Regions from separate parts of the Homo sapiens genome. Here region 1 is linked to region 2. Evidence: promoter capture Hi-C in 16 types of primary human blood cells and fetal thymus (Javierre and others, 2016). All regions are on one chromosome and are shown on one strand. Each heading gives the region's core, a stretch centred on a gene start or on the middle of the fragment in contact. The rest is flanking DNA. Distances are from core to core; before and after follow the strand shown.

Region 1 (2,723 bases), core at 102-2,601, 150 kb after region 2:
GGACAACTTGGAGGTGCGTCCCCTCATCTGCGCACCCCACAGATGCTGGAAATGCATGTTCTAATGGATTGGGAGAGACGGAGATGGGGTCCAAACCTCCAGTCCCTGGAGCCCGTAAATCTCCTTGGGAGGCTTGGCGCCCACAGAGACCTCTTCCACAGCGCTGCACACACAGATCTTCCTTCCTAGAGGATCTGAACTCACTTAGAAAACTGCCAGCACAGGAGGGATAACATCAGCTGTGCCCCCCACTGGAGAACCCAGAGACTCTGGGTCATTGTCAACATTGCCCCCAGAATGGGCTCTCTGCTGGGGAAGATGCTCAGGAATTGCTGCTCTTTTGCAATGCCAGTCTCTCCTAACAGAACTGCAGATTCCACGTGTAGACCTGCAAACTTCTGTTCTCTGCAGTTCCCTGAGTCACAGTTTACACAATCACAATTTTTTTTTTTTTTTTTAGATGGAGTCTCACTCTGTTGCTCAGGCTGGAGTGCAGTGGCACCATCTTGGCTCACCACAACCTCCGCCTCCCGGATTCAAGCCATTCTCCTGCCTCAGCCTCCCGAGTAACTGGGATTACAGGCTTGTGCCACCGCACCCAGCTAATTTTTGTAATTTTAGTCGAGAGAAGGTGTCACCATGTTAGCCAGGCTTGTCTTGAACTCCTGACCTTGAGATATCTGCCCACCTCAGCCTCTCAAAGTGCTGGGATTATAGGCTTGAGCCACCACGGCTGGATGAATCATAAATTGTAAACCTGAATAAAATGCTGCAACCTCCAATGAGAGGAAAATATCTTCTTTGTCCAATTTTAGTTATTGTCCAGTCAAATGGTATCAATGTCATATTTTAAAATTTCATTGGTAACAAGGCCTGAACTAGAGATGGGTGACTTCCTTGTTTTGGAAACACGATCAAGACCCACAGCGAGTGGATTCTAGAAATAAACCAGCAGAGGCATGTGGGCTCACACTGGCCTCCAGGGGCTGTGCAACTGGCACATTATTTTGCACATAACTTGGGTCAGGTTTGTGAGGTCTGGTTTTTAAACAAGTAAGTCAAATGTATGGCAGTATTTCTATTTTATCCTATGGCAAAATAATTCTTCCTAATTTTAATATTATTTTGTTCCTTAGGATTTGACAAAGTCTTAATGTTCAGCCAACATGGCTTAAGCTGTTGAACTACTCAGTTTTGTTTTGTTTTGTTTTATTTTTTTGAGACGGAGTCTTGCTCTGTTACCCAAACTGGAGTGCAGTGGCGAGATCGCAACTCACTGCAATCTCCACCTCCTGGATTCAAGCCATTCTCCTGCCTCAGCCTCCTGAGCAGCTGGGACTACAGGCGCCCGCCACCACGCCTGGCTAATTTTTGTATTTTTAGTAGAGACAAGGTTTCACCATGTTGACCAGGATGGTCTCCATCTCTTGACCTCGTGATCCGCCCGCCTCAGCCTCCCAAAGTGCTGGGATTACAGGTGTGAGCCACCCCGCTCGGCCTTTTTGTTTGTTTGTTTGAGACAGAGTCTCACTTTATTGCCCAAGCTGGAGTACAGTGGCGCGATGTTGGCTCACTGCAACCTCCACCTCCCAGGTTCAAGCGATTCTCCTGCCTCAGGTTCCCGGGTAACTGGGATTATAGGTGCTGGCCACCACTGCCTAGGCTGGTCTCGAACTCCTGGCCTCAACTGATCTGCTGGCGTCAGCCTCTCAAAGTGCTGGGATTACAGGCATGAACCACTGGCTATTTTTTTTTTTTTTTTTTGCCTCTCAGCCTCAAGCAGTCCTTCTGCCTCAACCTCCCCAGTAGCTGGGACCACAGACACACACCACCATGCCTGACGAATTTTTGTATTTTCTGTAGAGATGGGGTTTGCTGTGTTGCCCAGGCTGGTCTCGAACTCTTGGCCTCAAGTGATCCACCTGCCTCAGCCACCGGGTCTGGCCCCTTCATGCATTTTTTTCATTTATTTATTTATTTTAGACGGAGTCTCGCTCTGTCACGCAGGCTGGAGTGCAGTGGCGCGATCTCGGCTCACTGCAACTTCTGCCTCCCAGGTTCAAGCGATTCTCCTGCCTCAGCCTCCTGAGTAGCTGGGATTACAGGCGCACGCCACCACGCCCAGCTAATTTTTGCATTTTTAGTAGAGATGGGGTTTCACAATGTTGGTCAGGCTGGTCTCAAACTCCTGACCTCGTGATCCACCCACCTCAGACTCCCAAAGTGCTGGGATTACAGGCATGCGTCACTGCACCAGTCCCCTTCATGCATTTTTGAATTGAGTTGTTTGATTTGTTGTTGGCAAATATTTTCCCTCATGCTGTGGGTTGCTCCTTACATTTTTTTTTTTTTTTTTTTTTTTTTTGAGACAGAGTCTCACTCTGTCACACAGGCTGGAATACAGTGGCAGGAGCTCTGCTCACTGCAACCTCTGCCTCCCGGGTTGACGCCATTCTCCCAATTCAGCCTCTCGAGTAGCTGGGACTATAGGCGCCCGCCACCACGCCTGGCTAAATTTTTTTTTGAATTTTTAGTAGAGACGGGGTTTCACCGGGTTAGCCAGGATGGTCTTGATCTCCTGACCTCATGATCCATCCACCTCGGCCTCCCAGAGTGCTGGGAACACAGGCGTGAGCCACCATGCCCGGCCGCTCCTTACATTTTTGAGCCTTCATAATCAATCTTCCTTCCTTTCTTTCTTTCTTTTTTTTTTTTTGATGGAG
Region 2 (2,700 bases), core at 39-2,538:
TGAGTCCTTGTTTCTGAATCATTTCACTCTCAAAACACAGGCAAATGCAGCTTTCAGGTCCCTGGCCAGGAAGTGCCTCGGGAGTCTGAGGGCAGAGCTGGCTGCATCCTCCCAGGTGCAAGGAAGCACACTCCCTGTAGCTAACAGTCCCTGGTCACCCACCTACCAGCGCCCACCAGCAGGGCCCTCTGACCCTGCCTCAGGCCGGGATCACTAAAGCCTGCGTCCCTGTGCCTCCAAACCTCAGTTTCTCTGTTCCTGCATTCCGGTCCCAGGCCTAAATCTGACAGACACCTTCTCTCCTGCTCCCAGGAGGTTGCAGCTGGGACTCTCCTAGCCTAACCCCAGGACCCCAGGGCTGGGGTAGTTGCAGAGGGTGGGCTGGCCCTAAAGTTTCTCTGTGGGCAGGAGCCCTTCTCTTGGTCAGGTGAGGCCAGGCCAGACCACACACAGACCAGTGCTGGCTGTGCGCTCCCTCCCCAGACCTCCCGTCGGACCATCTCCCCCTGAGTCCTGCAGCCCTGGCACCTTTGGTTCTGGGCCCTCTGCAGATGGGTGTCACAGGGTGGCCATCCAGCTCAGTGCAGGAGCAGCTGGAGGTCAGGCTGGCCTGTCTGTTCAGCCCCTTCAGAGCCCCCTCCCCAGGCTGTGCCTTATCCTAGCCCACACACTGTGGAGTAGTGGTGTCTCTTAGGTGGCAAGGATATCTGGCCAAGGAATGTGTCCTTTAGGGCCAGTCTGAGAAAGGCATTAAGCAGGCTCTTTTTAGGGGGCTGGAGGAAGGAGTCCCACCTCTACCCTGCTCCACGTGGTCCCAGTATGGAGGTGCCTTTGAAGCAGAGCCAGGGAATGGGGGCCGCTTGCTGGGACGCCCAGAGAGGGGACAGCTGGAAAGAGCAGAGATCAGCTTCCCCAAGCCCATGGCTATCCTACCATTTGTCCTGGCACCCTTGCCACCCCCAAGTCCTACAGCTCTCACAGCCAGGTGCCCCCCAGTTCCCTGAAAGTCCCCACCCTCTTCCAGCTTGGGCCTGGGCTGGAGTCCCCACCTCTGCCCTCCACCTGGGCCTAGGGGGCAGAGGGCAAGCTGTAGGGATCTAAGGCCCACCCTCTTCCTAGATAGGAACCAGCCCACCTTGCAGCAGGACTCCCAGGAGGGTGACAGCAGCCAGTAGAGCTACCTCGTCCTTCATGGTACCGTCGGTGTGGTGGCACGGGCTGTGTGTGAAGGCGAGCTGGGGAACGCTTAGCCCCGTCTGCTGCTCAGAGGACGGCCCAGGAGAGGAAGAGCAGCCTCGGTGCTCTCCCCGCCCCATCTCAGTGGAGGGGGTGCACGGGGGTGTGACCATACCACACAGAGCCAGGGAGCCAGGCCAAGCCAGCAGGGAGGAAACCAAAGTCTGGGCAGGGGAGAGCAGCTAGCTGGAGACCGCCTCACCACTTCCTGCTTGTTCGTGCCCCTTCCTTGCCTAGTCCCGCGTGGCAGAGCCCAAGCTGTCCATCTGGGTCAGCTCCAGCTGTGGGTGTGCCCCCTGCTGCACCACCCCACTTTCTCCAGGGCCTTGCAGACCCCCACATCATGCTGGAGCCAGCCCCAGGCTCCCGGCTAACTCCTCCACCCACCTTATCTGTTCCCTGTCCCCATCCAGGCTGTTCCTGGCAACCCCTGCCAAACCCTCCTCTGCGGAAGCCCTTCCCAGTGCCTTTGGCTTCAGAATGGAGTCCCAGCGCCCCCCCAGCCACACTGGGCCCCACAAGCTCTTTCTCCTTCAGGAAACCTCATGCCTGCCAGCCTTAGTCGTTGTAGGGGTTCCATGCACAAGGGCCACCCTGCCAGGAGGAAACCTGTCCAAGGCCCCCTGGGTGGCGGGAGGGTCAGCCCTTGTGGGCCATCCCTCTCCCAGGCCTCTCTTGGGCCTCCCACAACAGTCACCTGCTGTGTCTTTCTGCCCCGCAGCCCTCTTGCCTCAAGGTAACAACCCTCCACCACCTTCCTAGACGGCTGCCCTCCCCACACTCAGGCCCTGTGGTCTGGACAGTGCTGACTCCTGCCCCTTCCAGGCCTGTGAGATGGACACTGAGCCAAGGCTGACTCAAGATGGTGAGATGTAGTTCTGGAAACTTCCTTAGGACTTTGGGACAGGAAACTCAGAGTGGGGAGGGGGACTACGGCGGGCCACCCTGAGGACAGAGCCCACGCAGGGCCAGGTGGAGAGGAAAGGTGGCACCCGAGGACTCCTGCCTGGAGTTCTGGGTGTCTCCCTCGCCCCGCCTGGAGCGCCCCCGGCCGCCCCCCTCGCCCTGCCTGGAGTGCCCCTGGCCGCCAGCCTTCCCAGTTGGGCCTAACGGTCACTTCCTCTTTTGGCTTGAGTGGGTTTGCGGTGGCTTTTGGTCAGAAGTGGCAAAGTCCAGACTGACCCAGAAGCACGGGCAGGAGCTGGGGGAGGCCACAGGCCGTGCTGCAGGGGTCGGGCCGCATGGTTCTGCCCTCGCACCTGGTCCTTCCTTGCTGCCCCAAGCTCAGCTCCAGCCTGAGGCTCGGAGCCTGTTGGGCTCTCTCAGAATCCCTTCTTCCTCCTCTGGGTATCGCCCCTGCCCCCGGAAACCAGATATGCCCCAGCTGGGGGCTCTGTGAGCTCCTCCAGGGCAGGGGCCAGGGCTCAGGCCCGGCCCCTGCTTTAGACCAAGCTGTGACAGTCA

What was found. The method cuts DNA at HindIII sites, captures the fragments that hold promoters and counts their contacts. A CHiCAGO score of 5 or more calls a contact.
Region 1: a fragment that was not itself captured here is called in contact with the fragment with the promoter of LTC4S in region 2 in 2 of 17 cell types (neutrophils and monocytes); the score reaches 8.3 in neutrophils.

What each region holds. Positions count from the first base shown.
Region 1 is chr5:179,639,616-179,642,338 of GRCh38, reverse strand. SPATA31J1 (SPATA31 subfamily J member 1) reads left to right here. Exons shown (of 6, transcript NR_131066.1): 5 at 1-13; 6 at 461-795. The region is part of intron 4 of LOC128966623 (a long non-coding RNA gene); the gene reads right to left. Among named protein-coding and RNA genes, the nearest start is that of SPATA31J1, 4.1 kb to the left of the region's middle. The HindIII fragment of the contact is 4,198 bases long and covers 1-2,723 here.
Region 2 is chr5:179,792,574-179,795,273 of GRCh38, reverse strand. It overlaps LTC4S (leukotriene C4 synthase), which reads right to left and starts at 1,288. Exons shown (of 5, transcript NM_145867.2): 1 at 1,136-1,288. The coding sequence starts at 1,193. RefSeq lists enhancers at 1-165, 1,649-1,798, 1,819-1,898, 1,473-2,100 and a silencer at 1,229-1,298. The HindIII fragment of the contact is 38,202 bases long and covers 1-2,700 here.